3 separate regions of the Homo sapiens genome follow, and regions 2 and 3 are each linked to region 1. Evidence: promoter capture Hi-C in human tissues and cell types (Jung and others, 2019). All regions are on one chromosome and are shown on one strand. The core of a region is centred on a gene start or on the middle of the fragment in contact, and the rest is flanking DNA. Distances in the headings are between cores, read along the strand shown. Region 1 holds the start of SLC13A5 (solute carrier family 13 member 5). Region 2 overlaps TEKT1 (tektin 1). Region 3 has its middle 6.1 kb from the start of TEKT1.

Region 1 (4,500 bases), core at 1,070-3,569:
AACTGGAGACAGTCGGTGAGGAGAGAGGCCTGGGTGTTGGCAGAGGGTGGCGTGCCCTGGGAGTCACCTCCTGGCAAGGACTGTGTTGCTCAGGCTGCCAAGGTCCTCCCAGCTTCTCACCAGCTTCCCAGCTGCCCTGCCCGTGCTGTGTACCCTCTGGGTTTCCTTGCACAATGGGGCGGCCATGGAGGGTGGGGGCAGGGTGACCAAAACAGGCAGAAAGGGAAAAAACAAGAAGACAAGGTCCAGGGTCCTCACCCAACCCCGCCAGAAGGAAAGCTCGTGAAGGCAGCCTTTGGAAGGACTCTCCCTGGGTTCTCTTCTTCCCCTCCCTGGTCCTCACTCAAAGGACAGCTTAATCTCTCTCTCTCTCTCTCTTACACACACACACATACACACACATACACACACACTGAGTTAGGGTTTCCAGTTCAGGGTGTGTGTGTGTGTGTGTGTGTATGTGTATGTGTGTGTTTGTGTTTTTTGTGTGTTTTGTGTGTGTGTTTGTGTGTGTGTTTGTGTGTCTGTGTTTGTGTGTTTGGGTGTGTGTTTGTGCGTGTGTTTTTGTGTGTGTTTGTGTTTGTGCGTGTGTTTTGTGTGTGTCTGTGTGTTTGTGTGTGTGTCTGTGTGTGTTTGTGAGTGTGTGTGTGTGAGAGAGAGAGTGTGTATGTGTGTGTGTGTGAGTGGGGTCTCCTGTGGCAGGAAGGTCAGCCAAGCTACTATAATCATTCCAGGGAACATCACTCCCTACCAGCAGAGCTGAAATCGCAGCTCTCCTGCCTGGCTACTTCCCCTGGACAATAACAACCCCAGACTTCTTGCTACAGAGGAAGTGTGGCTGCCCACAGTTGGTGTGGCAACTGCACAGCCTCCACAGTTGGATCTGCTGTCCTTGACCCATCCAGGGCCTGTGCTAGGCCCACCCAAGGGCTCCTCCCAGTCTCCCCCTCCCCCATCCTAGGAACTAACGTTAATCCCTTTTGATTCCCAAAGCCTTAAAGTGTCAGAACCAAACCACCTAGCCCCATTGTACAGATGAGAACACCAAGGCCCAGAGAGCACAGGCACTTGGCTAAAGTCACACAGATGACAGAATGGTGGAAGTCCAGTTCTCTTGCAGGTTGGCTTCCTGACACCCCAGTGCACTCCCTTCCTCTAGAGCTCCCCCCCAGAGCATCCCCTGAAGAGCTCCTCTGTTTCCCAAACCTGCCTGGGGAGGGGAGGTGGGGAGCTGGAGGTTTCCTGTCTGGGCTGAGAGTGAAAGGGCTGAAAGAAGGAACGAGGAAGGAGCAGCCAGCAGCCACAAAAGGCTTCAAAGGGCTTGGGCCTCCGCCAAACTGGCTGTGCACAGCCCAGTGGAGCCTGCGCCCACCCTGCGGCCAAGGCCATTCATTCTCTCTCTCCCTCACAGAAGCATTAGGAGACTAGGGCCTGGGAGGAAGCTTCCCTGCAACTCCAGGTCCTGCCACCCAAGGCGCGAGCTCTGGGAATGTGTCCCGCCTCCTGCTACAGCCCCAGCAGGCAGGAGGCAAAGCAGGCCAACCCCAACCTGCCTGCAGCCTGGAGCAGGATTATGAATCAGATGTGGCTCTCCAGGTTGGAAGGAATGTGGATCATAGATAGAGACACTAAGGCCCAAGGAAGGGCCAGAGAGTGGCAAAGACAGCGCAGGATCCACGTGGGTGATGATTTTTTTCCTGTAGGTCCCTCCTGACGGCAGAAGCCACCTACAGCTTGAAGTCTTCTTTGGCGAAGGGAAAAGACAGGAGAGAGAGAGGGAAAGGCAAGCTCCCAGGTTCCCTGTTGGCGCAGGTGGCATTTTGGGGGGAAACAGGGTTATGCACTGTGGGAGATTCGATTCGGAGCCAGGGGCTGAGCCTAAGGCTGGGATCTGTGTGGCTGAGATCTGTGCTCACTTCGAGGTTTCCGTGCTTGCCTGGACGGCTCTTGCGCCCTGGGATCTGTAAACCCCAAGGGTGGTGCGCCCTGGGGTCGCCATGCCCCTCAGATTCTTTACAGGGCACCTCCCATCCGGCACCTGGAGCTCCTGAGTGCGCGCGCCCCGGGAGAGCTGTGCTCCCCGCGAAATCCGTGCGCTCCAGCTCAGGGCTCCCGGGATCGGTGCCCGTTAGTGGGCACAGGACGCCGGGTGTCCGAAGGGCTGCCTGGAGATGCAACTGACCTTGGCGGGCATCAGAATGACGAGTGGCAGCAGCAGGAGCGGGGTGACGAACAAGATCACGAAGGACTTGAACTTGGAGACATAGCTCAGCGCCGAGGCCATCGCGCGGGAGGGAGACTGGCGGGCGAGACGAGTGAGGGGCAGCTAGAGGCGCCGCGGGCTTAAGAAGGGGCCACAGTCCCCGGGGATTGGGGAGGGGGCGGTGACAACTCCGCCCCGCACGGGGGCGCCTCCCCGCGGCCCTGGGGCGGGGCCACCCCTCGGGGTCTGTGGGACGCGCCTGCCCCCAATTCTGCCACCCGGCGGCGGTGGGAGGCGTCTTTGGACTCCAACGCTTCGGGCCAGCCCTCTAGGGGCAGCCTGGGCCCTAGCATCTCGCGCTGTCCAAGCCTCTCCTGCGCTGCCGAGGCAGAGGTGCGTCCCGGGGCTGCCAAGCGGGGCGTGTTTTGGTCACTGGTGCTGCCCGCTTTGGCGTAAGGCGCCCTCCCGCGTCCGCATCTGCTCTTTCCTGGGCTCTGAAGGGTCCCGGATGAAACTCTCTGCAGGCCTCTGGGTCTCTCAGGTCTATCTCCCCGATCTCCCTCTCCTTTCCATCTCCTTACTTCCGCCCCTCCGGTGTCTCTCCGAGAGGTGTCCCCCCACGCCCCGCGCCCTCCGCACCGCGGGCCTCGCTTCCCGGTCCCCCCTGGCTTCCTCGCCACGTCCGCCCCACTCTAGGTGCAGGACCCCTTTTCCCCGCTCGCACTCTCCGGCCCGGAGCTCCTGGGCGATCGCACAGGGAAGCGAGGCCACTGTCCTCCTCTGTCCCAGGGGCTGTCGCGCTCCAGTGGACGCTGCACCCCGCAGACGCCCGGCGGGCAGATGCGGACACGCGTCTTGGAGGGGCCCCACCGAGCCTCAGCAGCCGCAGCTGCCCGCCCGACCCAGGTCAGAGGGAAACGGAGCTCTAGAGAGGAAGGGACACAACTAAGGCGACACTGAGACAGTCGCCCATGTATTCATTCAGCCCGCCAGGCAACAGACAGGTGCCGAGCACCTCTTCTCCGCGAGGCCCTGTTTTGGGCACTGGAGACACACGGATGCAAAGACATCCCCACCTCTGTGATTTTCTTCTTTCCTCTCCTCTGCCTGCCTCTCATTCTGCAGCTTCCTTTTGGGGAGTCTCATCCATGCTGGTGGCCTAACCACAGCCGGCTCCTTAGTGATTACCATCCTCTGCCTTCAACCCAGCCATGATGCCAGAGTCCCAGATGTCCAGCCTTCCGCAGACTGGACGTGTCTCGGCCCGAAAATTCAACACATCCTGAATCAAGCTCATGAGTTCCTTCCTGTGACCTGCACCCAAGGACATGCATTCTCCCAAGCCCCTCCTGCAATTGCCTCCCTCCTGTCCTTTTCCCTTTGTAACTCTCATGCATATAGCCCTGGGTTTTCCCGCCTTTCCTGTGTCCCCAGGGCACTTAGCACAATTTGTACCTCTTATATTTATTGGTGTAATTTTTACTTTTTACTTTTTTATTTTTTAAGTGTTATTTCATTTTTAATTGACAAATCATTGTCTATATTTACGGGGTACCATGTGATTTTTCAATGTGTGTATAATTGTGGTGTGTTCAAATCAGGCTAATGAGCATATTTATCACTCGAATATTTATCATTTCTCTTGTTTTTGTTTTTTGTTTGTTTGTTTGAGACAGAGTTGTGCTCCTGTCACCCAGGCTGGAGTGCAGTGGCACGATCTCGGCTCACTGCAACCTCTGCCACCTAGGTTCAAGCAAATCTCCTGCTTCAGCCTCCCAAGTAGCTGGGATTACAGGTGTGCACCACCACGCCCGGCTAATTTTTTGCATTTTTAGTAGAAATGGGGTTTCACCATGTTAGCCAGGCTGGTCTCGAACTCCTGACCTCAGGTGATCCGCCCACCTCGGTCTCCCAAAGTGCTGGGATTACAGGCGTGAGCCACCGCGTCTGGCCCAAATATTTGTCATTTCTTTGTGGTGAGAACATTTAAAATATCTTGTAGCTATTTTAAAATATATGACACATTATTATGATGTAATTTCTATTTACTGTCTGTTTTATTCATCACCACCTGTCCAGCTAGTGCCTTTCTCAGTGCCTAATCCAGGATGTGCACTCAAACCTTTTTCTCCGGGATGCATGAATGAGAGCAAGTAAACAACTTCAGTTCTTTTTTCTTTTCTTTTTTTTTAATTTTACTTTAAGTTCTGGGATACATGTGCAGAATGTGCAGGTTTGTTACATAGGTATACATGTGCCATGGTGGTTTGCTGCAGCTATCAACCGGACATTTAGGT
Region 2 (4,475 bases), core at 397-2,896, 110 kb after region 1:
AGATGTTTTAGGGTGGGCGCAGTGACTCACGCCTGTAATCCCAGCATTTTGGGAGGCTGAGGCAGGTGGATCGCCTGAGGTCGGGAGTTGGAGACCAGCCTGGCCAACATGGAGAAACCCCGTCTCTACTAAAAACACAAAATTAGCCAAGAGTGGTGGTGCATGCCTGTAATCCTAGCTACTCAGGAGGCTGAGGCAGGAGAATCATTTGAACCCGGGAGGTGGAGGTTTCGGTGGGCCGAGATTGCACCATTCCACTCCAGCCTGGGCAACAAGAGCGAAACTCCATCTCAAAAAAAATTTTAAAAGATGTTTATAGTAATAATAACTATTAATAATAATAACACCAATAGTAATATTGCCTCTGCCAGTGAGCACTTACTCCATGACAGGCATTGTGCTGAGCTTTATTAATATATAAACATTCTTTCTTAGCCCTTTCAAGTACAGATGGGGAAACTGAGTTTCAGAGAGACTAAGTGATCTACCCAGTGTCACAGAACTGTGTGCCACATGTGCTTCTAGCCAAGATGCCATCCTCCTCCCAAACTGACCCTGCTACACAACGTTTTGCTCTTTTTCAACCTGCATGATAGTGCTTGGAAAGGAGGTTCCCCTACTCACTAGCTGGGTGCCCTTAGCCACTATATAACCTACCTGTGCCTTGGTTTCCTTTTCTGTAAAATGGGGGTAATTATTAGTACTTCATAGGATTGTGGCACACTACAAATGAGCTATAAAAGCATAAGCTACAGTACCTGGCACATAGTACATGCTCAGTAAACTTAGCAGCCTCTACGTTATCATTATCCTCAGGCTTAGACTTGAGCCAACTGGGTGTTGAGCTCTTTGATGAGCTGCTATTTCTCTTTGCTTCATAGATTTCTAAATCTGGCTGGGGAGACTGCTGCCTGGTTCCTGCAACGGGTCCTGTTTAAGCTTATGGAAGGAACAGGGCTTTCCAGGAAGACAGGGGCATGGTGCATTTGAGAAACTGCAAGTAGCTCCACACACCTAAGCACATCCCACTACTGGGGACAAGATATGGATCCAGAGAGGTCACTGGGGGCCCTATCATGATGAACCTTGGTTTGCTAAGCTAAGAAGCTTAAAATTTATCTTGAAGCCATTGGGGTTTGAAGGATTCTAAGCATGGCGGTGACCGGGAAAAATCTGCATTTGGAAAAGTTCACTCAACAGCCAGTGTGCAGGGTGCACTAGATTATAGGGGACTATGCTAACAGCAAGAAGACCTGTTAGGGCACTCCAGCTAGGTCTGCGGCAGAACCCAGGTCTGGAAACCAGCATCACCCCAGAGTAGAAAGGATCATTCTATTCACTGGATTTATAGGAGGGAAATAATAATAAAAAGCACTATGTTCCTATAGTGCTGTCTGGATTACAAAGTGCTTCCGTGTGGCTCTGCATGGGAGAGACATACTGTCCCCTGGGAGCTGTAGTGTCTGTTCTCACCTTCTTCCTTGGCAACAGAACCCCTGGTTTTTTGGCTGAGCACCTGGCTGCCCAAAGTAAAACCAATCATTTCCCAGCATCTGTTGGTGTGGCCATGTGATTAAGTTCTGTCAATAGGATGCAAATAGAAATGATGAATGCCAGACCCCACTTACTCCTACTTGCTGGAATGTAGACATAATGGCTGGAGCTCCAGCTGCCAACTTAAACCACAAGGTAACATTAGGAGTGAAAGCCATGTGCAGTAGAACAAGAAGATAGAAAAAGCCTGGAACCCTAAAACTGTGGCCCACCATTCCAACCCTGGACTGACTATCTCTAGACTCTTTGAATGTAAGAGAGAAAGAAATCGTTTTCTTTAAATTCAATATTATTTTAAAGTTTTCTGCTACCCACAGCCAAACCTAGTCCTAACATATTTGAGTTGAGTTAGTCAAGAGCAGAGTTGAGGCATGAACCAAGTCCAGTGCCCCTTGCACTGCCCAGCACCAGGGGCATGCTGGGATAACTTCAGGCTCTAAAAGAACACCTGCTCAAGTGCTGTGTTCTAACTCACCATCGCACACAGCCGGCATTTACTACCCAGCATCTCATTTGTCACAACACATGAATCATTTGAGGGACCTTCGCTCCTACCTGTATGCCAGGCATGTCTCAGTGATGTGCAAGGGCTCTTTCAAGGTCTCCAGGGCTTTTTCCAATCTGATCTTATATATGAGTAGATCATCAGTTACATTCACAAGCTGCTCAAGTTTGTCATCTAACTCCTTCTTCCAGAACTGGACTTCCTCGAGTCTCTGTTCTGAAGCACACGGGGAAGTTACACCAGGGCTAATCTATCCCAAGGTAGCCAACATTTGAATTAGAAACTTGAAGACTGTTGTAAAACCACCTGTGACATGCTCTTTTCCTCTTAGTGCTGTGCTATTTGGGGCATCTTTTCATCTTTTTAAATGTTTATTTGCAGGAAGGAAGGAAGATATATTTTCTTACAGTCCACATCAGATTTATCATTCTACACCCACTAGTTCTTCAGTGCCCACTGTTTTTAATAACTTTTAATTTTATCAAAGATATAAATGTGTGTTGTTAGAAAAGTCAAATAGTATCACAAAGAATTAAAACTCTCTGACCTGTCCCCATCCATTTGAGACGGAGTCTCACTGTGTCACCCAGGCTGGAGTGCAGTGGTGCAATCTCTGCTCACTGCAAGCTCTGCCTCCCAGGTTCATGCCATTCTCCTGTCTCAACCTCCCGAGTAGCTGTGACTACAGGCATCCGCCACCACACCCGGCTAATTTTTTGTATTTTTTAGTAGAGACTGGGTTTCACCATGTTAGCCAGGATGGTCTCGATCTCCTGACCTCGTGATCCGCCTGCCTCGGCCTCCCAAAGTGCTGGGATTACAGGTGTCAGCCACTGCGCCAGGCCCCTTATCACTTCTGACATTTGCTTATACTGCTATTCACTCATTATCAGTTTTGATATTATATGTTGATTTCCTGTGATGAAAGATAATGATTTGCTCTTAACCAACTCACACAACATACTTCCGTCTCCCAATATAGTTGTATCACCATTTTGTTAAACAATAAATAAGTAAACTTACTATTTATTTACATTTTGTAAATATATAAATGTTATTTACACCTGAGCCCTATCATACACTGTAATAAATTTCTTTTCTTACAAAATTTTCTGTTTTGGGGAGGAGTTAAAATGGCATTTTTGCTTCACTTTCTTTTTTAAATGATAATTAAAGGCAGATTTATTAGTCACCATGAGTAAAAAATGACTGATTATACTAGGAAAACAATTAAATATATATATATTTAATTGATAATGAGTAGTTCAGCATTTGAATCTTAAAGTCATAATGTACTGGTTGTAGTGTCAGTTTCCACTTCTGTAAGCTGACTCTGTTTTAAAAAAAAATGTTATTGTATATATTTGAGGTTTACAACATGACATTATGAGATAGTAAAATGGGTAGCATAGTGATTCCTTCAGTTTCTTTATATTATTAATTTTTTCTCAATATGCCCTCAATATATTCCAACCCATCAAGTAAGCTATCAATTTTCTTTCCTCCTTGGAGATGTCTCTCCTAGAGCATCTTCTCCTCCTGCTGGATGAGTTGCTCTCTAGTTTGCTGTGTAGCTGTCATCCTATGACTTTGCTTCCAGGAATCCCCTTCACTCTTCTCCTGTTGCTGTCCCGTTTCCTGGATTGTATTTCTTCCTCTTCCTTGATTTACTCTTTCAGTATGCTGAAGCATATCCTTCAGTAACTTCCTAAGAAATGGATGCATGTGAGGTAAAGTTTTTGAAAACCTGCAAGTCTGCAAATGTCTTTATTCTACCCTCGACATTTCATTCTATTTGGCTGTGCCCTGAGTTACAGTTTGTAACTCTTTTTTATTTGGAATTGTGATTGTGTCCCTCCATTTCCTTCTAATTTCCAGAGTTTCTGTTGAAAAGTCTGATGCCACTCTGATTCCTGATTCTTTGTATATGACCTGTTTTTTCCACTCTGAAAAATTTTAGTAATCTATTTTCCTAGGGTCCTGAAATTTCACACTGGTGTCAAACTTATTTAATTGTTGTGTCACATGCCAGATATACCCTTTGATATGGTTTGGCTCTGTGTCCCCACCCAAATCTCATCTCCAGCTGTTATCCTCACCTGTTGAGGGAAGGACTTGGTGGGAGATAATTGGATCATTGAGGCAGTTTCCCCCATGCTGCTCTCCTGATAGTGAGTGAGCTCTCTTGAGATCTGATAGTTTTATAAGGGTCTCTTCCCCCTTCATTTTCTCTTCTCTCTCCTGCCACCATGTGAAGAAGGTCCTTGTTTTCTCTTAGCCTTCCACCATGATTATAAGTTTCCTGAGGTCTCCCTAGCCATGTGGAACTGTGGGTCGATTAAACCTCTTTCCTTTATAAATTATCCAGTCTCAGGTATTTCTTTATAGCAGTGTGAAAATTGACTGATACAGAGAA
Region 3 (4,473 bases), core at 1,220-3,719, 120 kb after region 1:
ATGAAGAGATGTTCTCCACCATCTTTCTTTCAGGTGTTCACAGCAAATCAACAAGGAATAAAAAAATGGGAAAGATTCATAAGACACTGATCAATTACAGGACTGTATGGCACACACCAGGATGTCCCGGCACAGTTCACAAGCAAGGCTCCATTCAGGGTCCCCATTTCTCATTTCTAGAAGGTGGCTTTTCTCTGTAATTGACACCACAGTACAAAATAAATCAAAATCCTGAGGCTAGAAACAAGATAGTCAAGAATATGTGCAACATGTATTGATTTCTAGAAGTCGTCACGATATTTTAAAGTAGCTTCTTGTATAGAATTAAGTGGTGAAATGCTTCCTGTTTCTCGAATGATCACCACAACCACCATTTATCAAGCATGTATTATGTGCCAGGCACTGTGCTTGGGAGATATTATCCCATTTAATCTACACACAGCCCTTTAGGAGAGCTATGATTAATGACCCAATTTTTTAGAAGACAGGAGGCACAAAGAAGTTACTTACAGCTACTAAATGGTTAAAAAAAAGGAGGGGGCGGATTTTAATTACCTGACCCTAGAGCCTGCAATGCTAACCACTATACCCATTGTCGGAGCACTATATTGACTCACACGCTCCTAAGAGACAGGTTAGTCCTTTTCAAGGTAGTGCATAATGATCTTTTCAATGTGTAACGTTGGAGGCTTGACTAGACCTTTCTTAAGTCTTGTTCCTATTTGCCTCCAGGAGTTTGAGCAAAGTGGCCATTTCCTGCCCTTCATCACTTGCTGTATGGTTCTCCTTAAAGAAAAACCAGCCATGTGGGTGATCCTTTGAGCACCCCATCTGCCTCCACGGGCTCTCCTGTAAGCTTCTTCACCCAGCCAACAAGGTCCTGAGCAGAAGCCTTGTTTCCAGGCTGTCTCCTACGTCTGGAAGTCTGGGCTCTTGAATCACAACAGGATCTTGACTGCTTTGGCAATTTGAATTTGAGGATGATGAGCAGTGCCTCATCTCAAAAAATTACTGGAGTAACTTTTATGAAACTATTTTGTTTTCAGGGTCTAAGGTTTTTGCTTTGGAGACACTCAGGGAATATGTATCTACTCGTTCAGGCTTAGAAGGCTTGCTCTTGGCTGCTTTGTAGGCAACCAAACCAAATGTTGAACATATTCAGGGTTTTACCAAGTACTCCAAAAACAAGACCAAATATAATCAAAAGTAAGCAAGAAAGAAATGGTGAGATGGCTTTAAAATGACACCTGCATGCACAATGTTATTCATTTCAGCATCGCTGGTAATAGGAAAAGACTAGAAGCAACTTACATGCCCATCAGTAGGTGTCTTGCTAAACAAATTATGGCACATCCTTACCATTGGAAACCATGAAGCTACAAAAGAATGAGGAAGGACCTTTTGTAGCCAAACGAAATGACCTCTAAAGGATAATTTTCAGTGAAAAACAATAAAAAATCAATGTGATCCTCCTGCCTCAGCCTCCTGAGTAGCTGAAGCAGAAAGGTTGATATTATCTATTTTGTCCTCAAAAATATTTCTATAAATAAGAGGGGAGGAAGAAAACATATATACATATTTGCTTGTAAATGCATAAATATTTCTGGAAGGATACACAAGAAACTGGTGACCTTGGCTGACTGTGAAGCAAACTAGGTGTCCAGGGAGAGTGGTAGAAGGAGACTTTTCACTGAATACCCTTTTGTGTCTTTTACACTTTGAACCATACACATGTATGTACTACCTTTGCAAAAATAATAATTGAATTTTATTTTATTATTATTAAAATTAGTTCTAGACCAGTATTGATAAGTAGGAACAAGATAGAAAGTCTTATAACAAATAAGACAAAGGGCTAGAATATTTCAGTTACAGTGATAGGCTATGAACCGGGTCAGGACTAGCCAGTTAAAAGAGTCACTACATTTGGTCATTTGCTGTAAAGAAAGCCGAAATCAAATCGGTGCTTTGGTAAAGCCATTACATAACCTACATTTGGATTAATTCCAGTTCCTAACCATTGTTTCTTCTTGCAGTGAGGCCCCAGAAGTAATTCAGGCAGAATAATGAATAGAAATTTCGTAGTTTTCCTGAATAATAGTAGTTGAGTGCCTATATATCAGAAAGTGTTTGCATTATTTATCCATCATTTAACAAGTCCCTTCTTAAGCTCTGCTCCCTGCATCTCACAGTGCTAGGTGCTTTGGGGTAGGTAGCATGGGATCAGCCTCTGGTATCAGACCCAAGTTCAAGTCCAGTTCAGGCTTATACTACTTGCAGGATTTGTTTCCCTTGTTTTTTGTTTGTTTGTCCATTTGTTTGGGGGATGTTTAGTTTTATTTATTTATTTGCCAGGGTCTTGCTCTGTTGTTGCCCAGGCTGAATGCAGTGGCAGCAATCGTGGCTCACTGCAGCCTCCAACTCCTGGGCTCAAGTGATCTTCCCACCTCTGCCTCTTGAGTAGCTGGGACTACAGGCACATGGCCACCTGCCACCATGCCTGGCTCTTTCTTTCTTTTCTTTCTTTCTTTTTTTTGTAGAGTCACAGTCTCCTATGTTGTCCACACTGGTGTCAAACTCCTGGTCTCAAGCGATCCTCTGGCTTCAGTCTCCCAAAGTGCTAGGATTACAGGTATGAACAACTATGCCCAGCCCCAGCTGTGTGATGTTGGGCAAACTGCTTGTCTCTCTGCATCTCAGTTTCCTCATCTGTGACAAATGAACACAATATCTACCACATAGGGCACTATAAAGATTAAATGAAATCATGTATGTGTATTAGTCCAGTTTCATACTGCTATAAAGAACTGCCCGAGACTGGGTAATTTACGAAGGAAAGAGGTTTAATCGACTCACGGTTCAGCATGGCTAGGGAGGCCTCAGGAAACTTACAGCCATGGCAGAAGGCAAGAAGGAAGCTAGACACCTTCACAAGGCAGCAGGAAGAAGAAGTGCAGAGAGAAGGAAGAGCCTCTAATAAAACCATCAGATCTTGGCCGAGCACGGTGGCTCACGCCTGTAATCCCAGCACTTTGGGAGGCCAAGGCGGGTGGATCACCTGAGGTCAGGAGTTTGAGACCAGGCTGACCAACATGGTGAAACACCGTCTCTACTAAAAATACAAAAATTAGCCGGGCATAGTGGTAGACACCTGTAATCCCAGCTACTCAGGAGGCTGAAGTAGGAGAATCACTTGAACCTGGGAGGTGGAGGTTGCAGTGAGCCGAGATTGCACCACCGCACTCCAGCCTGGGTGACAGAGCAAGACTCCGTCTCAAAAACAAAAAAAAAAAAATCAGATCTTGTGAGAACTCACTCGCTATCACTCACAATCACTATCAGAACAACATGGGGAAACGATCCCCAAGATTCAATTACCTCCACCATATTGATACTAACCATATCAGTAGGCAAATTGCAACAGATGCTCAATACGTATTTTCTGTCCTTCCTTTCTCTTTAAGGTTCTTGGTGTCTTAACATACTCAGGGATATTTATTTACAAGGCAGCATATTATAACAAATAAGTGATAAAAACAGCGTATATCACAGGATTGTAGTTCCTAACTAGCAGTTCATATCAATAGCAAACAAAAACCTTCTTATAAAGTTCTTCTTAGACCTGCTCACTCAGTCATTGAAGGTAGGGCTAGGGCATAAAAATTCAATATGTATCTATTTCCTGTTAAATCAGTAATACACACTGAGAATTAAAATTTTAAATATAAAAGGGAATACAGTGAGAAGTAAATCTCCTTCCCATTCCTATTCCTCTGGCTCCTTTTTCCCTCCAAAAGGCATTCATTTTGTCCAAAGATATGTCTCATTATTTTTTTTCTAATCTTTGTTCTATGTGTTCTTCAAATTGGATAAGTTCTATGTTTCTGTCTTCAAGCTTGCTGACTTCTTTTGGTCGTTTTCATCCTGCTATAAGCCCATCCAGTGAATTTAATATTTTAGATATCATATGTTTTTAGTTCTAGAATGCAACCATTTGGTTGTGTTTTGGTAGTTTCTATTTCTCTGATGAAATTTCCTATTTTTCATTCCTCCTGAACATATTTCCATTTATATCCAGTTCTTATCTCATGAGCTATTTCCCCTAATCACAGACTAAAAATATATATTTTTTCCCTTCCATTTAATTCTTAGATGGATTCCCTGTCTAGAGAATGAAGAATTTAGATTCAGTGATCATCACAGAAATAAAATTGTTACAATCTTTTAAAATCCTTTTATTCACCTTGAAAGCAATTTGGGATTTTGGACTTTAAAAATAATATTTCACTTGAAAACTGTCTCAAGCATCTAATGTAAATGAAAACAGCAGGAATTCTGCTAAGTGATTTGAAGAAAGACATCAAAACACACTGACTTTTGCACATATATTTTTAATTGAGACAGAGTCTTCCTCTGTTGCCTAGGCTGAGCGCAGCAGTGAAAACATGGCTCACTGCAGCCTTGACCTCCTGG

The links. The method cuts DNA at HindIII sites, captures the fragments that hold promoters and counts their contacts. A contact is called where the count stands out against the background at its distance.
Region 2: a contact is called between a fragment that was not itself captured here and the fragment with the promoter of SLC13A5 in region 1, in 5 of the 25 tissues and cell types used here (H1 embryonic stem cells, bladder, liver and 2 more).
Region 3: a contact is called between a fragment that was not itself captured here and the fragment with the promoter of SLC13A5 in region 1, in 2 of the 25 tissues and cell types used here (adrenal gland and mesendoderm cells).

The regions. Positions count from the first base shown.
Region 1 is chr17:6,711,050-6,715,549 of GRCh38, forward strand. It overlaps SLC13A5 (solute carrier family 13 member 5), which reads right to left and starts at 2,320. Exons shown (of 12, transcript NM_177550.5): 1 at 2,183-2,320. The coding sequence starts at 2,284. The HindIII fragment of the contact is 16,548 bases long and covers 1-4,500 here.
Region 2 is chr17:6,817,084-6,821,558 of GRCh38, forward strand. TEKT1 (tektin 1) reads right to left here. Exons shown (of 8, transcript NM_053285.2): 3 at 2,110-2,275. Among named protein-coding and RNA genes, the nearest start is that of TEKT1, 12 kb to the right of the region's middle. The HindIII fragment of the contact is 6,754 bases long and covers 1-4,475 here.
Region 3 is chr17:6,835,597-6,840,069 of GRCh38, forward strand. No RefSeq gene overlaps it. Among named protein-coding and RNA genes, the nearest start is that of TEKT1, 6.1 kb to the left of the region's middle. The HindIII fragment of the contact is 4,207 bases long and covers 367-4,473 here.